4 separate regions of the Homo sapiens genome follow, and regions 1, 3 and 4 are each linked to region 2. Evidence: promoter capture Hi-C in 16 types of primary human blood cells and fetal thymus (Javierre and others, 2016). All regions are on one chromosome and are shown on one strand. The core of a region is centred on a gene start or on the middle of the fragment in contact, and the rest is flanking DNA. Distances in the headings are between cores, read along the strand shown. Region 1 holds the start of C14orf93 (chromosome 14 open reading frame 93). Region 2 holds the start of DCAF11 (DDB1 and CUL4 associated factor 11). Region 3 overlaps ACIN1 (apoptotic chromatin condensation inducer 1). Region 4 holds the start of DAD1 (defender against cell death 1).

Region 1 (5,452 bases), core at 2,814-5,313, 1.1 Mb after region 2:
ACCAAAAACAAAAAAAATTAGCTGGGTGCAGTGGCGCACGCCTGTAGTCCCAGCTTCTTGGGAGGCTGAGGCAGGAGAATCGCTTGGGCGGGGTGGGGGTGGGGGTGGGGGTGGGGGCGGAGGGGCGGAGTTTACAGTGAGCGAAGATCATACCACTGCACTCCAGCCTGGGTGACAGAGCGAGACTCTGTCTAAATAAATAAATAAATAACAAATAGGTGGGTGGGACCAGATTATGGGTGGCTTAAAATCCAGGTATACCAGCTGTCTTCCTGGAAATAAAGAGGAGCCACTTTAGTTTTGAGAATGTGGTCTGAGCCAGGTAGATAAACTGGGAGCTCGGGCTGAAGTGTAAGACTTCAGAAAGATGTTCCATACGTGAATGTTCATTTAAACGTGGGGGTGTTAAGCAACACACGTGACCCAGAGACATTTCACCTGGAAACCGGAGTAGGGCCCACGCACCAAGTCCCTGATGTTTAATTGCAGTCTAGAATGTTACTGACTAGTTCACTCAATTTAACAAAGTGTCCGGAGGTCGCTCACTGGATTGTTATGCTGGTGACTGGGCCTTGTTTCACTGAGAAAAAAAGATGGGAAAGGGTGACAGGACGGTGAGAAAGTGAAAGGGAGAGAGGTGGGAAAGGGGTCTGCCAAGGTCCAGGCGAGGTTGGGGGTCGGGGGTCCGGCGGCCCTCAGGGCCCCCCCCGCCCCCAACTCCGGGGTTGGCGCCTCGGGCGCGGCGCGTGTGCTTGCGGGCGGGGCGCCCCGCGGCCGCGGACGGCCAATCCGGGAGGGCGTCCGGGGAGGGGCGGGGCTTGCCGGCTCGGGCTCCGCGAGTCCTCCTTTTTGCACACACACGAATACAAAGAGCCATACGACCTTCGGGTATCCTTTTTCCATTTTTTTTCCTCCTTAATCTTGTGTGTGTTTTCAAATTTTTTAAAAATAGAGATCTGTAGCAGTGTTGGGGTGAGGAAACTGTTGCTAAGGGGAATTTGCTCTTTCCCCCATTTCTTTTTCTGTCTCTCTTCCTCTTTCTTTTTCCTGGTCAAGGTTTTAAATATACCAAGAAGTTGAGAAGCAGGATGGCCGTGTACAACCGTTTCCGGCCAAATTTATAGTTTTTTTTTCTTTTTTTTAAATCACATTTTAAGAACTGGTAGATTTTTGTGGTTGAGGGACTTTAAAAATTTAGCCGCTTGGGAAGTACAGAATTTTTTAAGCGGGCTGAAGGGATAATGTAAATTTCTGCCACAGGCAACATCGAAGGAAGCAGAGAGATTTGAGGCTCCCTCATAAAGCCGTTTGCGTGCTTTTTACACACCCACCCCCCCAGAACCAAAACCAAGTGGCTGGGATGTGGCACTTGTCCAAGGCCAATAAGTTAATATTGGGATATTATAATGGAGACATTCATTTCCCTAGGGAAGGGGGAAAGACCTTAATTACAGTGTGTCTTTCACACACATTTTCATTAGAACATTTGTGTGTGTGTGTGTGTGTTTCTTGAAACAAATTTGTAAAGTTATAACTTGGGGTTATTTGTGTATATGTACAATATGTGTGTATATGTGCCATATCAGATTTTATTTTCAAAAGTGATAAATATATCTGGTTTTATGTGTGCAAAGTATCCCCTAGGATGTGAATTTTTTTCCGTTGTCTTCCCAAATGTGATCAAAATATTTTGTGTGCAAAGCAGAGCTTAGAAGAAATCCTATGCTTAGCATACTTAGGCACTTTCTATGTGCATTTACTATATTTTTCTGCTCCTAAAGGATCAGAATAATGAATAATTAAATAATTGCCAAGGAGTATATAGTCCATGTGGCAAATGAGAGTAGGCAATTTATTGAATCTGTGGTTCAAAGCCTTCAGTGACTGTTTTGCCTAAGTGGTTTTGCTTTTTATTGTCTCACGTTCTTAAGTGTACAGCTGTGTATATTTTGGCCTTTATGTGTGGTTTGGTTGGTGTGTTCAGAAGGGAAGTTCTTTCTTGGCTTTTTGACAAAATGGTCGTTTATTGGTTGGAATATTCGAAAAGCTCCACAGCTGGCAAAGTATCAGGAAAAAAATCCAGTCAAGTGTAATTCTCAAAAACTGTTCATGGTGATGGTGATGGGGAGCCAAGAGGATGCAAAGGCAAATAATAGAAGGGATAAGAAATGCCTTTTGGTTATCATGTTGCATTTTTAGAATGGAAAGCTTCTCATTTCTAAGAGTCACAGAAAAAAGTATATGAATTAGAGAAAAACAGGCTCGCAGAGCAGAACCTCCTGTTATAGGAGCCCTATTTTCACTTCATTCTGTTACAGAATCACTATCTCCTCATTAGAAGTTGTATGGAAAATATCTGTATCCAAATTTGTATTCGCAGATTGGAGTGAAAGCATAGGAGGTATATGAGGTGCTGAGGGAGAAACTGGAATGTCACAAATGCAGTGACAACCAGGAGACAAAAAAAAAAATCTACTGTAGAATTTAAATTTCATTACAACAAAACTTCTGTATAATAATGCATTTCTATTACACAGCTAGCATCCTACTCTATTTCAAGCAGTATTTGACTCCTAAATACTGACTGCAATAAAGTTACTTGTACAAATTTATAACAAAAGTGGCCCTGTTTGGGCTTTCTGGGTTTCTTACTTGTGCTGAGTGTATTTTTATTCTCTAACAATTCAAGTCAGACCAGTGCTTAATAAATACTGGCTCGACTGTGGATTATTCCACAATTTCAGACCTGCATTTCTTTGAAATCTAGTCACATTTTAGTGATCTTTGTGATCACAACAGTGATGGGAGTTTTTTTTTTTTTTTTTTTTTTTTTTGAAACGGAGTTTCGCTCTTGTTGCCCAGGCTGCAGTGGCAATGGTGCGATCTTGGCTCACTGCAACCTTCGCCTCCTGGGTTCAAGCGATTCTCCTGTCTCGGCCTCCCGAGTAGCTGGGATTACAGGCATGTGCCACCATGCCGGGCTGATTTTTGTATTTTTAGTAGAGACGGGGTTTCACCATGTTGGTCAGGCTGGTCTCCAACTCCTGACTTTAGGTGATCCGCCCGCCTCTGCCTCTCAAAGTGCTGGGATTACAGGCGTGAGCCACCGCGCCCGGCCAGTTACGGGAATTTTTAATGGAGTTTTACCCTTTTTAGCTCTTTTCCACATCACTACAGGTCATCACATATACTTTTTACCTTACTTTTTAGCGTCTCAAAAAATAGGGAGAGCTCTCCCTGAACAGTGCAGAGCCCGTATCCCTGATTTCCTAGGCTATTTGATTTCTACATCCAGGAACGTAGGGTCATATCCACTGTTCTTGCTTTTTCTTCCTAAGAAAGGAGAGAATTCCTCGCACATATATATCGTTGGCTTGGCCTTCCAAAGCAAAGCAAAACTAAACTCTGTTGATTTTGCCTGGGAATCCTCGGGGCCCCTAGTATTGGAAACTTCTTTGAACTGTGAGGAGCTGCTAATTTGCAGGTGACATGTGAAAGAAATGTAACCGAGGCCAGCAGTAACTAAAAGTCGGCCACCACCCAACGTGTGACGCCGATTTGTGGCCACTGTGCTTATAATCGTGTACACACAGGTTTGTGAGCAGCAGAGAACAAAAGCAAGTAAACAAAAACAAGCTAAAGATGGCGTCTGACGGCCTTGAAAAAGCCTCACAGTCTTGTCCCTCCCTGAGGAGGCCCCTCCCCTACCTGACTTTTTGAGTGACTGTTGTTTGCAGCCAATAGTGTCCGTGACCCTGCTCCCCAGCCATCGTCTAACCGCCAATCACCGGGAGCCAGAAGGCAAACGGGGCGGTGTCTCCCCGCGTGCGCGCGGTAGCCGGGTACACGGGCAGGCGCCGCGGATAGTTCTGTCTCCCGCGCGCCCGCCTCCGCCTCTGCCTAGCTGAGTCAGCCCGTGCGGTAGCGCCAGGCACACGCGGTAGAACATCTGTAGGGCTGCAAAGCTGCACCTCCGCGTCAGTTCTCACGGCGAGCGCCGCCTTCAGCCCAAGTTCTCAAAGCTCTCGGGGCTACGTAGTCTACCCTCCCCGGTGACCCGGCGAGATCCCTAGCCGCTCCTCCGGCCGCTCTGCTCTCCGCATCCCTCGCGGGAATGACCCCCTTTACCCGGGACTCCCAGAGCGCACTGTATGGTAGGGCACAGTGGCGAGTCACCCTGTCCCCTGAGGCCTCTTGAGCAGTCGCCGATCTCTGCTTCCCGCGTCGCTGCGATCGCCTTTCCCGTAGCTGAATCACACTGACCCATCGGAAACGGTTCTGCCCTCCCTGGGGTCCACCTTGTCATCCTTGACTAATATTTAATCAACTAACATTTACCAAGTTCTCGCTGGCACGAGTTCTAGGAGCTACTTTTTCATTTTTCAGTTTCTCCATAAATGCAGTGGGTCCTTTAGGCAAACCTGAAATCGGAAATATTAATCTTACCAATGTAATCTTAGCAAATGTAAATAAAAAGGACTGTGCTATACTGGGCTAAAAATTCTCATCCTGCTATAGAAATATACGTGGAATTTTCAGATTACGTGGAATCCTTTAAAGACCGCATTCGGCCTTCTGGGTCTACAGCTCTCTTTTTTACCCCTAAAAATAAGGTCTTGGATTTTTTGCAGACCATTAGTCGAGTCACTCTTTTAAAATGTGGGAAAATAGTATTTTGTGGTATTTACTTAGCTGCTCTTGTGTGATAAGGAGCTCATTTCTGATAAAAATAGGTTTTGAGAGAACCTTTTGACAGGTGAGCCATTTTGCACCTTGAAGTGGAGGAGTAGGACTGACCAACACAGCAGGAGCTTTAAGTGGCCGTTTTCCTTATTTATTTCTTAAAATGAAGATTATGATATGAATTGCCATGCTTTCAGTAATCACATTTAAGGAAGTCTATTGCTAGCATGACCCTGAATGAGTCAAGCACCCATTATAAAAACATATATCATCTGAGTGATACCATATCATACACATCTATTAAATAGTGAGAAAACTTTTATTTTTCATAGTTTGGAGGTGAACTCAGTCATGCAGAAAATTCAAACTCAGAATGGGGAGAAAGCAAGCAAGGGAACTGCCAAGAGTATGATATATTTAGTCCTAACAAAAATGTGACTTGGGAGGAAAGGGATAGTTAAAATTATGGACAGTCTTACCCTGAACTGTCTGTCTAAAGGAGATGAATTGTCTTTCTTTTTTATCTAAATATTTATGAAAAATACCAAAAGTACTGGAAAGTACATTTTTAAGGCTCGTTTCACATTTATTTAAATTAGACCAATACTGAAATGAACCCCAAATGCTTATATTTTTTGCAAACCTAAGTGTGACATCTACTGTCATGTTGTGTTGGCAACGCATCCCAAGATTGAAGATCTTTTTCTCTTTTTTAGACCTAGTCAGTTGTTTTCAGGACTTTCTACTTAAACATGTTGCCATCATTTGA
Region 2 (5,385 bases), core at 2,735-5,234:
GCAGATATGAACTAAGAGAAGCAAGAAAAACAAGAATCTTTCAGGGATGGGGGAAGAAGAGTGGAAGTGAAGCTAGGGAAGAGATCAAACAGGGGACAAGGGTACTGGAGCACTTTGGGAGTGATTTTCCCAGGACAAAGTGAGGGATCCTGGCTCAGAGGGGACAGGCACATGGAAACCTCAGGTCCCAGGCTGGAGAGTCAGTGGAAGCCTGGTGCATACTCACTGTAATCAGACCAGCTAGAGTAGAGGAAGTGGTTCCCATCAGGGGTGAAGGCCACATCCAAGACGCTCCAGCCTACGTCGCGGGCCTTGATGCTCTTGAATTTACGGAAACGGCCATATCGGCAGTCATAGAGTCGGATTGTCTGGTCTGTGTAAGTAAAGATCAGGCAGAATTATGGGACAGTTTCCTTGTAACTTTTCTAGATTAGACATCTCCCACTCAGTGTACCTGTGGAGTCTTCCCTTTATCATGGGAAACATGGTCTGGCTAAGCATCCTTAAGCCAGGTCTGAGCTCCCCGTCTGTGGCTTTCTAGCCTCAGTCAGGGGGAATGTCCCATGTTCCAGGAAAAGATAGTTTATAGGACCAGGGTCTGGTACCTTGGCAAGCAGACATGAATATTTGACCATCTTTGCTGTAGATGCCACAGAAAGCCTTCTGAGAGTAGCTATCAGTGAAGCCCAGATCATTGGGCAAGAAGCTAGGGAAGGAGAGAGAAAGTGAGGGTGAGGGGTGCTCAGGATAAGGAGTGTCCCAATCAGCAGAATCCTAACAGAGCTGGAATATCAGAACAGTCATTCTTCCCTTTTGGCTGTGAGTGCAATCCCGTCTTTCAACCATTCCACCATCCTCTAAATTTCTACAATTTTCTACACTTTTCTACTTTGTTTACTCTCAAAGTTTCAACCCCATTTAACCTAACCTTTAATATCTCTGAGGCTCCTTTAACACCTACCCCTTCAAAGTTTAGGAGATAAGACCTATCTGGCCCTTAGAGTCTCTTCACCAAGCCCCATACTCACTGAGATATCACTCGAGACTGTTCTCCAAGGGAGAAGCTTCCCCGATGGCAGAGGCCCCGTTCTCTCTAAATGGAAGGGATTGGGGAATATTGCTAGCAGAAATAGAGGGCCACTTCAGCCATATCAAGCCCCCTCCTCCAAAGATATTGCTCTTGTTATAGAAATGGACACACACATCATAGTCTGTCCCACAGAACTCCGATGGAGGCTGGTTAACTCTCCAGCCCCAGCGCTTGAGGCTTCTACTTTGGAAAGTTGACTTCCTTTTTCTCTGGGGCTGGCAGAGCTTCTGGCTGCTTTGGCAGGCCTGCTGCCAGGCTGGGAGGTGGAGAGGCCTACCTGGTGCAACATTCGAGGAAAGCTGTGCTTCTGGGCGGCCCGCCTAAGCCCCAGCTGCCCTGTGGCCAGTTCCACTTGTGTCTTGATCTCATTGAATTCCAGCTCCCGGGTGTCAGGGGTAGCATCCACTGTGAGTACCAAGGAGAAGTTTCATCCTAGGTCTGCCAGCCTCAGAGGACAGTTAGCAGAACTGTACCCAAGCCCACCCCTGTGGCTGAATATACTGGGGCTGTAAGGACTCCTTATTCCTTAAATTATCGTACCTTCTTTCAATGTAACCTATCATTCAAAATATCACTAAAAGGTTTTCTAGTAAAAGTCTTCCAACATTAGGGGCTTTTCCTCTTACCAGGTGGGTTGTATCGATCCCCAAGACGACCATCCCAAGCTCTGTCATTCTCTTCCTCTGAGTCCAAGAGGGCCTGAATGAATTGTAAATTTGCTGCACCTCCTCCCTGCACCAACCTCACTTGGCCTCTGTGGAGAGACCCCCATTATAAAGGAGGGGACTTCTTCCCCCAAACCAACCAAATTCAGAGTCAATGGCTATCTAGCTCTTAGACCACTTGGTACTCATTTTGAGGTTTGAGGCTGACTAGACCTTGGCTGTTATTTTTGGTCTCCTATAAAACACAGTAGGAAAGAGAGTTTTACTCTTACAGCAAGAGCAAGACCAACATGCTGTGGACGTGACCTACTAAGTTGACCTCCCAGCGAGCTAAACATTCTAACATCATTTCCTTAGAACAAGAGCAAGACCAATACGCTGTGGACATGACCTACTAAGTTGACCTCCCAACAAGCTAAACATCCTCACAGCATTTCCTTCTGAGCCTCTGCCTGAGAAGTCCACCACAGAAGACAATATTCTAAGCTGGGTGCGGTGGTGTGTGCAACTGTAGTCTTAGCTACCTGGGAGGCAAGGATTGCTTGAGCCCAGGAGTTGCAGGCTGTGGTGTGCACTTGATCACACCTGTGAATAGCCCGTTCTCCAGACTGGGGAACACAGTGAGCCCTGTCTATGTCTACTAAAAACAACACAAAACACAAACAAAAAAGAATACAATATTCTGAAGGGACCCCCAAACCCATCTTCTCCTCAAAGAGCCATAAGCAAAGAAAGAAAGCCAGCTGCACCCTTTTCCAGTCAATTCCAGGTGGTCTCTCCCTTCAAGGCATTCTTTCCTCAAGAACAGGTTAGAGTCAGGGCAAATTAAACTTGTTTTTCAAGTAAATCGAAGTGGCCTCATATCATGTGTCAACTGCCTTACTAAAAAGTTCAACACTCCCTTCCCATCTCTTCACCCCTTACATCACTCCTTTCCCACTAGGACCCCCCCCTTTTTTTTTTCAAGCTTACTTGGAAAATAGACTATATTTGTGTAGTCACAGAGACAGGCTCCCTTGAATAGCCCCTCAAACACATGAGCAGGTCCTCTTGGTGACCCTCCCTAGGTAAGAACCACTCTTACTGGGTATGGAGCTGAGTGCCATGGGTGCCCAGCAGGGAAAGGCTGTTCAGCTCAAACAGAACAGCTGTCCTGAGCGAATCCCATTTCCTAACCTCTGTAATTTTCCTGCCTGGAGTTGGGATCAAGGCACTGTGGTAGCACCTGCTGGGGGTCACACCAGAGGGTAAGTTACCTGCGGAGGAGATAGGCCAGTACCTGGGCCAGATCCACATCTTCATCCTCTTCTTCCTCTTCCTCACTCCGACGCAGGCCAGCCCCTCTTCGGGGCAAGCCCTCGGAGGGGTCTCCGGACCCGGATCCTGCACTGCTGCTGTTCCGCGATCCCATCTTCTGGTCACAGCATTCTTAGGTCCTGTGCGGGGGCTCCTCCTGTCACCTCCTTGGGTTTGGTGAAAGCAAAGCGTGCTCTAGAAATACCAGGGTCTCCTGAGACGGGGTAGTAGCTATCTCTAGGAGGGTGACCCTTCCTCGGGGCTGAGATCCCTTTTCTTTAGCCTATGCCAACTACCAAGGCGTCGGGAACACAAACCTTCTCCAATCCTGTGAAGCAAAGAAAGCAAGAGTGAACCGTAGTGCGCTACCCTAGCTCACCAACTGAAGAAAGATTTGTTTTCTACACCAAACTCACCTATCGAAGTCCCCGGACTGGGGAGCGGGAGGGGTGTTGGGCGGTGTTGGATTTCCAGGTAACCTCTCTGACCGACCAATCGAAATCCCTCTCGGAAGAAAGCGCTTCACTAGCTTATCTCATCTAACCAATTAGAAGCCTTAGGACTCAAAGACCCTCGACGCCCCCACCTTATCGACCAATCAGAGCGCCCCCTTACAAAGGCCGGCAGCAGTGACAGCCAATGAAAATAGAATTTGGCCTAACACCCCTCCTTCCTCGCCTCACGCCCACGTGGTGCGCCGGGGGTGTGTACGCCATGAGGGGGAGGAAGCCGAGAAGCACCTCCCACTGAAGCCGGCGGTAACCGCCCCACGCGAGACCACCCACCAGCCAGGAGCGGTCGCAGGACCCGCAGCGGCGCGAGGCCTTGTTTACACCGACTGCCGCCACTGCGTTGGCCAACCGCTCCTCCGTCACGCGCTTCGCTCGTCACGCATCTCGCGGCTTCCTGGCCGGCGGGCTGCAAACGTCACACGACGGCCCCGCCCCCTTGGCCAGCCAACTGGACAGCGGAGCACGATGATTGATAGGTAGGCGGGAGAATGCGCGAGGTGCCTGAGGGGAGGAGAAAGTGCACACCCAAGGAGGGCTGTTAGCTCTTGCTGGGGAGGAGTAAGTGGGAACTGCCAGCTTCCTGAATCAGAGACAGCCGAACTAGGCGTAACGGCTGAGAGGCGGGGCTTAAAAAAGAAACGTTTGGTGGTTCGCTACCGAGAGGTATTTTAGCAAGGGATATAATTTACTGTCTGTCCCTAAAGATCATTTGGCATCGCACTTTTCAGACAGTGCCCAAGGGCCTCCTTTCTCCCCACTGCTTCCCCTGTCCAGCTGGAGCCGTTCTTCTGTCGCTGGCCGCAGCTCCAGTCGGTTCTGCCCTAAGGGGTGCCCAGCGTCCCAGTAGACCTCCATACCGTCCTTCCGGGCTTAGCTTTTGGAAGCCTTGCTCTTGGGACGGTCCCCTTTTAGACCTCCCTTTATCCGGTCTGACAATTTTTTAAGACAATCCCTGGCTTTCCGCCGCGGTCTTTGCAGACGTTCCCTAATACACGCGTCTTTCTGTCAAAGCTTTTCCGGTTCCGCTGTCCCCTTTGACGCTCCCTTGGCCCTCCGGGATTTGCAGACCTTCGCTAGTCCCTCTGTCCTCGCGGTGCCTCTCCGCCCCCGGCCGCGGGTCCAGGGTGCGCGCTCGCCGCCTCCTGCCCCCTCCTGCCCCCTCCTGCGGGTTTATGAGTAACAAGCCTGAGTCCAAGGCCGGGAGTTGCCACATCTCTGATCCTCGCCCTGGCTGGGTGGGGACGTGTGGGTTGAATGACCTTGCTGTCTCGGGCTCAGAGGCTCAGGGTCCGAGCTGAACTTCATTCCCTGCAGCCTGCACTTCCTTGGGAAAGCTGCGAGCTTCCCTCCGCCCGCTCCTGAGGGCAGGGATGGGAGCGAGGGCTCGTGGCCTTCTTGGGCCCTCCTGGGGCCTCTCCCAGTGAGGGCGAGGGTTTGGCCAGCTTTCGGGCGACGTCTCCTAGTCTCTAGATCCGGAGACCTGAGCTTGTCACCAGGGCTAGCTTTGATGGCCTCTGCGCTTAGAAGGGTCCTGAATGTTTGGTTTAATGTTCTAGTGTTAACGGTCTTGAAATTATTAGTAATTTTAAAGCAAGTGCCTGGTATTTTCATCTTGCACTCGGCTCCACTGATTATGTAGGCGGTCTGCTGGGCGCCCATCCTCTATTGCCAGATTACTTACTATCTGTGCTTTAACGTTTATTGAGACTTTAGGATTCCGTGGTTTCTGGGTTATCCAGCCTGGAAAATCGGGATCTTTATTTATTGATTGATTTTACCTGCGTTCTCCCAGAATGTGACGGAATCATTTTTTTTTTTTATT
Region 3 (5,549 bases), core at 878-3,377, 1.0 Mb after region 2:
TCCCTACTTGGGACACCCCAAGAAGAGCTTGTGCCAGTGCTGGGGCGCCTGCCCACATGCCCTTGCCCTTTTGAGGACTGTGGGTTGCCTTGTTTGCTACAGACTGTTGGGATCCCCATCTAGGGCACCAAGACCTCCTAAAGTTTGTGATCGCAGTGCCATGCTGTAAAACACTGAGTGGGACCCTCTACTTAAGCTGTGACGACTAGGAACCGTGCAGAGGAGTCTAGGGTCTGAGCCCCTGGGGATTTAATGCTGATGACAGCCCAGCCCATGTGTCACCACTTGCTCATCAGATGGACTTTCCTTTGGTCCCTGTTGTCCATGGTGAAGGGCAGCATGTTGGTTGCTCCAACTTCTCCTCCATCCCTGGAGGCAGGGACTCATTTCATCCACCTGACTGGAACCACTGTCTCAGCTGGAGTCCCTGAGGAGATGCCAGCCACAACTCTCCGAAGAGAAGTATTCTGACCTTGCTGCTGAATGTCTGCCAGGTCCTGGGGTATTCACCTACCCCCAGGCTACCTTCATCAGAGGCTCCATGATCCCACTCGGTGAGAGGACCCCCTCCCCAGTTACAGGCAGAGGAGAAAGGGACTCTGGAGTCATCACCTGGATTCCAAGTATTGGGTGGTGTTATTGCTGCAGCTTGCCACTGGTGGACATAGGGTCCTGCCTGCCTCTCACGATAAAAGGCAAGGATCATTCCTGCTACTCACAGGCCATCTCATCAGGGACTGCAAGATGATGTCCCTTCAGGGCCAGGACTGATGTCTCTGCCCCTTTCCCCCCTCTATCCCTCGCTGAGCCTGGCCACCGCCAGTGAACTGTCTTGACATCATGGAAACTGGGCAGCGTCCCCCCACACGTTTCCCTCCCGCCCCCCCTGCGCCCCTGGGAGGACTCTGGCAGTGCCGTGCTGACTACCACGCCGTGCGCCCACCTTTTTTGCCAACCCAACCCCCCACCAATTGCACAGCGCCTAGCAGGGAGGGCTCATTCTGATTGGACCGGCGGTTGACTAGATACAGTACACAGTGAGGTGCGATTGGCTGAACTGAAGATCCCAGGTGTGAGATGGTACCTGGAACATTTGTCATATTCCTAGTTTATTTTCTTCTTTATTTTCTTCTTCTTTTTTTAATATTTTATTTTATTTTTTTCTATATCTTTATTTTTTCTGATTTCTTTTATTTATTTATTTGGTTCATGTTTTTCCTGTTTTAATTAAGACCTTTTTTTTTGTTTTGTTTTTCTCACTAACTTACCCATCGAGAGCGGCCCAGCTAGGGGTCAGGCTGGCCCTTAACAGAGACCAAGGAGACTTGGTTAGACGACACAAACGGGGCTGCGGGTGGGGGTGGATGGGAAAGGGATTTCATCACGAGGTTTCTGCCCTACCCTTTAGAAGAGTGGTAGAGTGGTCTTAGTTTTTCCAGAAATAAGCACCTACACTTGAAAATACTCTATTCCCTTTTTCTCTCTCACTTTTCTCCCCCGCCCCCCATAGTCTTTCGTCATTCACCCACTGAGTGTTTGGGGTAGAGACTTGTCCCAAAGATGTCTTCTGGTCTTTGGCAGAGCCCCTAAGGCTTGAGCCCTGGTTGGAGAGGAAACAGTAAGACTCTGCTGGAGCTCCCTGCGGTGGCTGGAAAGTCTAAGGATCTCCTTGGGGACAATCTGCCCTTCATAAAAACCTTCCTTTATCAAAGACACCTTTGAGTTCTTTTTGCTAGCACTTGGCTCAAGAGCCTCATCTCCAGTGGGTCTGGTGCTGCCCTTTTCCACAGTGTGGTGGGGGTCTGGGCAGTCTTGACATGACAGTCTGCTGTCCAAGCATCTCAAAGCCATTGTCAGTGGGCATCAGTCTGGCCATTGAAGAAAGGAGGGTTACCTTGTTGAAGTTGCCATCCAAAGTTGGTTTTCCTTGTTTCCTCGAGTTAGCAAGGAAGGACCTGGGAGGACTAGATGACCCAGTTTGGGGCACAGTTTGTTTGGCTTGGTGTCCTCTCGACTCAGACGGTGAAAGAGGGGGTATGACCAACATCTTTAGGGGGCTGAGAGGCTACTGAACTCCTCTTCCAGCTTATTTCTGGTTAAGCTAATACACAGGTGTGATACGGAGTAGATGACTTTTCCCTGCTCTGATGTTTAGTTTTATTTTTTTCTCTAACTTGCATTGATTCTGCTTCGTTTTTGCCGTTTGCCGCTTCTGTTTTGGTCTCTGTCTGTCTCTGTGTCTCTCTCTGTCTCTCTCTCTCACTCTATCTGTGTCTTTGGAGGCTAAGCTAAGACTGCCCCATCTAACCTCCTTCCCCCCTCTCTGTGGGGTGTCTCTCTTTCTCTTTTTTTTCCCCTTTTTCTTCTTCATACAGAGCTCGCTGCCCAAATCATTCAAGAGGAAGATCTCCGTTGTCTGTAAGTCCAGCCCCAAATCCCTGATAAAAGTCAGGAATACCATAAAAACCAGCATTCATTGAGAACCAGAATTTCATTCTCAATGGCATTCTTGGGTCACTCCCTCCTGCCCCACCCCTTGTGCCTAGCAAATCTGAATCCTTTCCTATGTAGGGTTTCATTTTGGAATTCAAAACTTGAGACAATCCCCATCATATTGCTCCAGTCACATTTTAATGAGATACAGTGTGAGGTGTCTGAGACCATGTCCCATTTAGCCTTAGAGGCATTTATTCTTTCAGATACCTGAATACTCAACAAGGAATGAGTTTCAGGGACTCCTATGTGATGCTTAGCAGTTTATGAATTATTCTGGGTATTTTGTTGTTGTTTTTTTGAGACGGAGTCTCCCTCTGTAGTACCCTAGGCTGGAGTGCAGTGGTGCGATTTTGGCTCACTGCAACCTCCGCCTCCGGGTCCCAGTTCAAGCAATCCTCCTCCGCCTCCTGAGTAGCTGGGATTAGAGGCATGCGCCACCATGCCCAGCTAATTTTTGTATTTTTAGTAGAGATGGGGTTTCCCCATGTTGGACAGGCTGGTCTTGAACTCCTGACCTTGTGATCCGCCTGCCTTGGCCTCCCAAAGTGTTGGGATTACAGGCGTGAGCCATCGTGCCTGACCTTGTTTATGCGTTATTCTAAGAGAGCACCCAAGGAAATGAAAGTGCCCCACACCTCAAACAGTAACAATTTTAACATTTTCCCCAATGAGGAACTCTAGATTACAAAAGTATAATAGATGTTTATAACTTAAATATCAATCTGTAGTGTGAAAATTAAAGGAAGACCAGATCCCATCATGATCTTAGTTCTGCCTAGATGTTAGTATCACATAGTGTTCTTGTTTCTTCTGCATTTACATGTCCTTCTCAGTTTTTCTTCCACACTACTTGATATTACTGTCTACCATTAAAAGTTTAAACGGCTCATCAAACTAGCTACCCCTCCCTTACTGCTTTTAGATCAGTGTTCAGTCTGAAGCCATGGTTTCCCCAGTTCCCAAATATGATTTCTTTTCTTTTTTTTTTTTTGAGACGGAGTCTTGCTCTGTCACCAGGCTGGAGTGCAGTCAGTGGCACCATCTTGGCTCACTGCAGCCTCCGCCTCCCGGGTTCAAGCAATTCTGCTTCAGCACCCTGAGTAGCTGGGATTACAGGCATGCACCACAACGCCTGGCTAATTTTTGTATTTTTAGTAGAGATGGGGTTTCACCATGTTGGTCAGGCTAGTCTCAAACTCCTGACCTCGTGATCCACCCGCCTTGGCCTCCCAAAGTGCTGGGATTACAGGTGTGAGCCACCACACTCAGCCTCCAAATATGATTTCTTTAAGTTAACCTTTTACCAAAACTCCAGCCAGAGGTAACCTGTAGGTATTACGGTTTGAACTAGCAGAGGTCCTGAGACCATCTAACTGTTGGGTCTATTTCTTGGGGACAGCAGCTACCAAGGGGGTGCCAGCTGGAAACAGTGACACAGAGGGGGGCCAGCCTGGTCGGAAACGACGCTGGGGAGCCAGCACAGCCACCACACAGAAGAAACCTTCCATCAGTATCACCACTGAATCACTAAAGGTGAGGTGGGAGGAGCCAGGGAAGGGAGGATGAGACCTGTTAAGGTGGGAGTAGACATGGGCCCAGTGTAACGGGGTGGGGGGTATCTGTGTCCCAGAGCCTCATCCCCGACATCAAACCCCTGGCGGGGCAGGAGGCTGTTGTGGATCTTCATGCTGATGACTCTCGCATCTCTGAGGATGAGACAGAGCGTAATGGCGATGATGGGACCCATGACAAGGGGCTGAAAATATGCCGGACAGTCACTCAGGTAAGGCTTCTGCACCCCAGTGTCAGGGGAAAGGTGGGAGCAGTAGATGCAGAGCAGCTAGCTGAGGAGCTGAGATAAAGTCTTTGGAGGGAACTTCCCTGTCTGTGCAGAGGGTTGGGTTGACTGACACTTTCAGGGGTCAGACTACCAAATCCAGCTGGCTACCTGTTACAAATAAAGTTTGATTGGAACACAACCACACGAGTTCATTCACTTTTGTCTGTGGCTGTTTGTTCACTACAACATCACCAGAGTTGAGTAGTTGCAACAAACTATGTGGCCTGCAAAACCTGAAGTACTGCTTTGCTCTACAGAAAAAATTTACTAACTCCTGTCTTAGTTTTCCTCAAGGCAAAGTTGAGGCACTAACAATCCCAGGATCTGGTAGAAGTGAGCCGATAACGAAATACCCCTAGCGGAAGGAACATGCTAGATTGACTGCTACTCTTACCGGGGAACCAGAGGCTGAAAAGAATATGCCAGTTTGGTGTTTAACAGACCTGCTGTGTTCTCTGACACCTTGATAGGTAGTACCTGCAGAGGGCCAGGAGAATGGGCAGAGGGAAGAAGAGGAAGAAGAGAAGGAACCTGAAGCAGAACCTCCTGTACCTCCCCAGGTGTCAGTAGAGGTGGCCTTGCCCCCACCTGCAGAGCATGAAGTAAAGAAAGGTGAGTGACATATTGTGAGAGAAATGTAATGCGGCTCCCTGAATTCTCAGAGCACCTCATTTGGATCGCTGAAAGCTTTGAATGTTTCCTGCCTTTCATTATATTTTTTCGTATATCATATCTTTCTCCTACATATTAAGTAAGCTACTTGAGGGCCAGATTTGACTCTGTTTAATCTTTGAATCTCCATGATGAGGAGGTTAGCCTAGCACAGTACTTTGCAGATTATAGGTGCTCTGCACGTTTAGATTAAGGAGTGGCTGCTTGGTATAAAAGAAAGGGAACCGTGAGAGTTACATTGAGGGTGAAAAGAGCCAGTATTGCTTCCTACCAAAAGCTGTTCTTGTGGTCTTCTTGATAGTGACTTTAGGAGATACCTTAACTCGACGTTCCATTAGCCAGCAGAAGTCCGGAGTTTCCATTACCATTGATGACCCAGTCCGAACTGCCCAGGTGCCCTCCCCACCCCGGGGCAAGATTAGCAACATTGTCCATATCTCCAATTTGGTAAGTCATTGTTTCTCACCATCCCAGCTTGCTTAGTGGTTAAGTTTGAGCTTTAGGCTTATGCCTCCTAGGTTCCACTCATAGTTGAACTGGT
Region 4 (5,245 bases), core at 2,637-5,136, 1.5 Mb after region 2:
GTGTTTCTTTTGGTAAATAATGTGATTTCTTTTTGTAGAGGATGTATGATGTAAAATCATGGACTTTGCCCTTAAGGGAACCCTCTTGCTCCTCCACTCTTCCATTGTTTTATGTAATGAAACCCCTAAAGTATACTCTGACTTCAGTTTCAGCTTATAAATTAGATCTGCCCTTTAAGAGCCATTTGAGTTGCAGTCCCTCCAGTGCTATCTTTTGCATACCCAAATTATTGGGGGCGCTGTAGTTTGGCTAACTTTTAATCATTCAGAGAACTAGGAGAAGCAGACATGGTTAATTACTAGGATTAATGATAGTTAATAAGAGCAAACATTTACTGAACATTTACTGTCTGCCAAACACTATGCTAACAGCTTAATGCTTAACATTATCTCATTTAATCCTCACATAATTTCAATGAGCCAGGTATTGTTATTTCTGTTTTATAGAAAAGGAAAATGAGACTGTCAGACTGAGTAACTTGTTCCAGATTAGACAACTAGTAAACAGCAGAATCAAGGTTCAAACCTAGGACTGTCTGATTCTAGAGCTTGCACTCTTATCCACTACTCTGGACAAGAATTTTAAACTATATTAATATTCTGATTTAAACTAATTGAAATCAACACTAGTGTTAGCAATTTCCTATTGACAGATCAGTTAAAAATGTTTCAATGATTATAGAATCATAAACCGAATAGAGAAGTAGGCCTTTTCTTGCTGTTTTAAGTAGTTCAGAAAAGCCCTAGTGTAGTATATTGGTGTGACTAGCAGGTCTCAGAAACAAATGCATTCAATAAGTCCATTTGGTGTTTTTCATCTCTTCTTCTCTCCTGTGAGAGTTCCTGGGGAGATCTTAATGATGATAGTTGACATGGATCAAAGGCAGACAAAACATAAGGGAGAAAACACTGGAAGGAGCCTGGCTGATGGAACAGAAACTCCCTGAAGAATCCACACCTGAATGATTAAAAAGCATCAGCCTAGCCTGTAAAGTTTGAAGTTGAATATTCGTGAGGAAGCTACCCTCCTACTTGTTGATGAGGCAGAGAGAAAGGTTCAACTTGTCAGAGAAATTGATGCTTCCTGCCATATTATATTGAAATAAGAACCAGCTTGTTATCCACTCTTTTTTTTTCTTTCTCAGCAACATAGGTTTAGGCTGAACTTATGTTCATATAGCTGCACAAATCTCCACGGGTATGAATATAAATCTATCTATTCAAATAGACTCTAAAGGTTTCTTAGGTTATTTCTCTTCTTTCTAGAACTTAAGTAAGGCTTTGATCACCACTGATAATACATCCGTTAGTTAATGCGTGTAGAGTTTCCAGTCTAAAGGCAAATAAAAAGTGAAAAGGGGCCGGCGCAGTGGCTCACTCCTATAATCCCAGCACTTTGGGAGGCTGAAGCAGGCAGATCACCTGAGGTCAGGAGTTCAAGATCAGCTTGGCCAACATGGCGAAACCCCGTTTCTACTAAAAATACAAAAATTAGCCGGGCGTGGTGGCAGGTGCCTCTAATCCCAGCTACTCGGGAGGCTGAGGCAGGAGAATGGCTTGAACCCAGGAGGTGGAGGTTGCAGTGAGCCGAGATCGCACCATTCACTGCACTCCAGCCTGGGTGACAAGAGCAAAACTTCATCTCAAAAAAAAAAAAAAAAAAAAGTGAAAAGGCAGGAACGCTGTTGTTCACCTGCTGTTTTAGGAATTTTGCTCACGTACAGTTCAAAATATTAAGAAGCTGAAAATAAAGTACCTGGTCATGTGTGGAAAAACTTACAGCTAAAAGGTGAGATGAACTGGGTCTAGAAGGTCGGATTCACGTGAAATTAAAAGGGCAACGAAAGCCAGAACTTAATTTCTTAAAAAAAGTTAAAACAGGCCGGGTGCAGTGGCTCATGCCTGTAATCCCAGCACTTTGGGAGGCCGAGGCTGGCGGATCACAAGGTCAGGAGTTCGGGACCAGCCTGGCTAACAATGGTGAAACTCCGTCTCTACTGAAAATACAAAAATTAGCCGGGCGTGGTGGCGCGTGCCTGTAGTCCCAGCTACTAGGGAGGCGGAGGTTGCAGTGGGCCGAGATCGCGACACTGCACTCCAGCCTGGCCGACAGAGCAAGGCTCCGTCTCAAAAAAAAAAAAAAAAACAGTTAAAACCCTCAAAATAATCCCACTTGTTAAAATACAAAACCTGAAACCATTTCAGTTTCTTCTGCAAAATGAGTTGGAGAGAGTAGGGTTGAACCAGGCATGCTCTTTCGGGCCTTTCGACGCTGACATCCCGGGATATTACACCAGGTTCAAGATACCAGCTTGCGGAAAGAGAGCTGCTAAACTTGACCATATGCTTTTTGCACGACATTCGACAGCTGTCCCTCCCTTCACCAGCTCTTTTAAGGCTGCAAATATATCTGATTCACGTGAGAGTCCCTACAAGTTAGTACAACGTCAGGCCCCAAGGAGGCGCCCAATAAATGTTGGCATTGCAGGGCCAGATCCCGAGTTCCAGTTCAGAACCCTGCTGAGGTCAGGCTTCCTCCCTGCCTCCCGCCCCTCACCACACCCACTCACTCCCCCAAGTAATTAAGTCTAAACTGGGGCCTGTGCAGTGATTGGCCGCGCCGGGTCTCACTGCGGATGAACTTGACTTGTTCCAATGATCTGTGACAGACATCTGCAGACAGCGCCCTTAACAGAATTAGGGTCAGGCTGGTATCAAACCCCAGGAACGCCAGGCATTGCCTCAAAGTAGATGCAAACCGTTAAATCTTCCAGGACTCAGAAGGACCAGAGAGAGCCGGATACCTCTGGTTAGCTACGCGGTCCCCAGTAAAGCTTATTCCCCTCTTCCTCCCAGTGTGTCTTGTTGCCAGAGCAACTGTGGGCGTCACCGAGCTGACGGGCGGAAACAGAACAGAAAGAGTACACGTCCCCAGCTCATTGATAGGGCCATTGCGCAGACGCATTAACTTTTCTGAGTTGTAGTTGAGTCTGTTGATGCAGTCCGCGTCTGCGCATTAGTTGTTACGCGCCCTGGCCGGCCTCAGCGCCTGCGCAAATTGGCACACCGGGGAGGGCGGAGTTAGGTCACGAGGGTGCGCATGCGCAAACAGCACATCCGGTGTGGTCGACGGGTCCTCCAAGAGTTTGGGGCGCGGACCGGAGTACCTTGCGTGCAGTTATGTCGGCGTCGGTAGTGTCTGTCATTTCGCGGTTCTTAGAAGAGTACTTGAGCTCCACTCCGCAGCGTCTGAAGTTGCTGGACGCGTACCTGCTGTATATACTGCTGACCGGGGCGCTGCAGTTCGGTTACTGTCTCCTCGTGGGGACCTTCCCCTTCAACTCTTTTCTCTCGGGCTTCATCTCTTGTGTGGGGAGTTTCATCCTAGCGGGTAATGGTTCTATAAGTGATCATAATAATAATGTGTTACTTTGGTGTGCTGCTTTTGTTTTCATAGTACTCTATATCAGACCACCGCCCCTTGAAGTTATGAGAAGAGCCTGCATTGCCCTTTTGTTGTGAATGGGGAAATTGAGGCTCAGAAAGCTTAGATTATATGCCTAATACCAAACGGCTCCGTAGGAGTTGGACTTAAAAGTCTAAAGAAACCACCTTCGTGCCGCTACTCCACTTGGTGATCCACTTCACTTAATATTGGTCCGGGGAAAACCCTATTCCAACTTTAACTTAGGTTTAACACAACTCTAAAATTAGTAGACTTTTCAAATGAAAAACCCAACCTTGAATCATCTCTGTCATCTTGGCCTAATCATTACCAATCTCCGGTGAAACGTTTCAATGAAAGTGCAAAGAATATAAATACTGGTGCTTTTCTTGTTGAATCATCCTTTACTTGATTTTGCCTTTTAGCTGCTACTACTTTTTTTCTTGTTGAGGAAGCTGTTATTTCACTGTCCTGAACCCAATTTTTGTTCACATAACTCTATTTTAGCCTTATTTTTCCTTTTGATTCCAGGATTTGGTAACCTTGTAGACTGCTATATTTAGCGAGAACAGTCTCCATCAATTTTTGTTAAAATCTGACTTTTCTTGCCCAACGGGGATTCAGTGAATACTGAAAACAGGCGTGGCCTCTATCACTGGTATCACCTGCTACTTTGACTTTGAAAACATGCCAGCATTCATGGTTTCTTTTCAGTGTGATCATCAGTCAGGTCATCAGTTGTATTTTCAGTCCAATATGAGGCATTATGGTAAAAGCTTTGGCACATGTTCTTTATCCGTAAAGAGTTTATGGTCTAGTTGGGGTACAGACAAAATACAGCATTGGAATTGTCTGGAGGCCTGGCACAGTGGCTCATGCCTGTAATCCCAGTACTTTGGGAGGCCGAGGTAGGCAGATCACTTGAGGTCAGGAGTTCAAGACCAGCCTGGCCAACATGGTGAAACCCCATCTCTACTGAAAATACATAAATTAGCCAGGCATGGTGGCACACACCTGTAATCCCAGCTACTCGGGAGGCTGAGGCAGAATCGCTTGAACCCGGGAGGTGGAGGTTGTAGTGAGCCGAGATCGTGCCATTGCACTTCAGCTTGGGTGAGAGTGAGGCTCAGCCTCAAAAAAAAAAAAAAAAAGTCTGGTGACAGTGGTGCTGTGCTTAAAGTTACAGACCTATAGAATGCTTATTGTACATTTACATTGTTCTGACACACCAGAGATATTTCTTAGAATTTAAAACAGGTCTGAGGATCTAATGACTTGTGTACTGAAGTTGCAGATTAGCCTTTTGATTGGATATTTAGTTACCATCTTTGACTTTTGTCCTAGATGACCAAGACCTAGTTGTCTGTGGTGGCGTCCTTGCCTTCAGGATGTGTTAACCATCATCCGACCAGATACACTACCCCTTTGCTCTAAGTATTCTCCACCACCCACCCACCGCCCTCTGCCACGGTACTATATGTTTTTATTAGCCAGCCCGGAGAAGGAACCTTGATGAGAACTTTTGATTTAATTTTGTTTGATGTTTTTGTTTCCAGGTCTGGAAGAGTAGGAGCAAGGCAGGGTCTGAAAGCTGATTTTAAAAAAGATGCCTTCTCCATGTAGAAGTCACCCTGCCTTCATAAGCCTCTAGGGTCTAGAATGATTTTTCATGGATGCTTTGAAGAATGTGGTTTGCTGAAGAGTGGGCATGGACTAGAGTTATAGATTATCAGTGTAATAAAGCCAGAAGGTTTTTTTGAGCAAATGACTTTCACTTATGCCAAGACCTGTTTTTGAGCC

The links. The method cuts DNA at HindIII sites, captures the fragments that hold promoters and counts their contacts. A CHiCAGO score of 5 or more calls a contact.
Region 1: a contact is called between a fragment that was not itself captured here and the fragment with the promoter of DCAF11 in region 2, in 2 of 17 cell types (non-activated CD4 T cells and activated CD4 T cells). The highest score is 7.5, in non-activated CD4 T cells.
Region 3: a fragment that was not itself captured here is called in contact with the fragment with the promoter of DCAF11 in region 2 in 1 of 17 cell types (naive B cells); the score reaches 5.5 in naive B cells.
Region 4: a contact is called between a fragment that was not itself captured here and the fragment with the promoter of DCAF11 in region 2, in 1 of 17 cell types (fetal thymus). The highest score is 6.2, in fetal thymus.

The regions. Positions count from the first base shown.
Region 1 is chr14:23,005,537-23,010,988 of GRCh38, reverse strand. It overlaps C14orf93 (chromosome 14 open reading frame 93), which reads left to right and starts at 846. Exons shown (of 7, transcript NM_021944.4): 1 at 846-888. LOC124903286 (a long non-coding RNA gene) reads right to left here. Exons shown (of 2, transcript XR_007064075.1): 2 at 2,005-4,421. RefSeq lists silencers at 508-857, 3,769-3,818 and enhancers at 2,485-3,045, 3,979-4,348. The HindIII fragment of the contact is 3,706 bases long and covers 2,211-5,452 here.
Region 2 is chr14:24,113,376-24,118,760 of GRCh38, reverse strand. It overlaps DCAF11 (DDB1 and CUL4 associated factor 11), which reads right to left and starts at 3,984. Exons shown (of 15, transcript NM_025230.5): 1 at 3,468-3,984; 2 at 3,012-3,379; 3 at 1,717-1,844; 4 at 1,368-1,495; 5 at 1,029-1,093; 6 at 606-706; 7 at 227-373; 8 at 1-11. The coding sequence starts at 3,166. It overlaps NRL (neural retina leucine zipper), which reads left to right and starts at 3,812. Exons shown (of 3, transcript NM_001354768.3): 1 at 3,812-4,039. RefSeq lists enhancers at 3,905-4,054, 4,295-4,434, 4,016-4,731. The HindIII fragment of the contact is 1,852 bases long and covers 2,725-4,576 here.
Region 3 is chr14:23,062,835-23,068,383 of GRCh38, reverse strand. It overlaps ACIN1 (apoptotic chromatin condensation inducer 1), which reads left to right. Exons shown (of 19, transcript NM_001386863.1): 10 at 2,376-2,418; 11 at 3,896-4,029; 12 at 4,127-4,279; 13 at 4,807-4,948; 14 at 5,310-5,455. Among named protein-coding and RNA genes, the nearest start is that of CDH24, 8.1 kb to the right of the region's middle. RefSeq lists an enhancer at 5,549. The HindIII fragment of the contact is 5,796 bases long and covers 1-5,025 here.
Region 4 is chr14:22,587,093-22,592,337 of GRCh38, reverse strand. DAD1 (defender against cell death 1) reads left to right here and starts at 3,114. Exons shown (of 3, transcript NM_001344.4): 1 at 3,114-3,391. The coding sequence starts at 3,181. RefSeq lists enhancers at 2,834-3,475, 3,476-4,117. The HindIII fragment of the contact is 675 bases long and covers 3,549-4,223 here.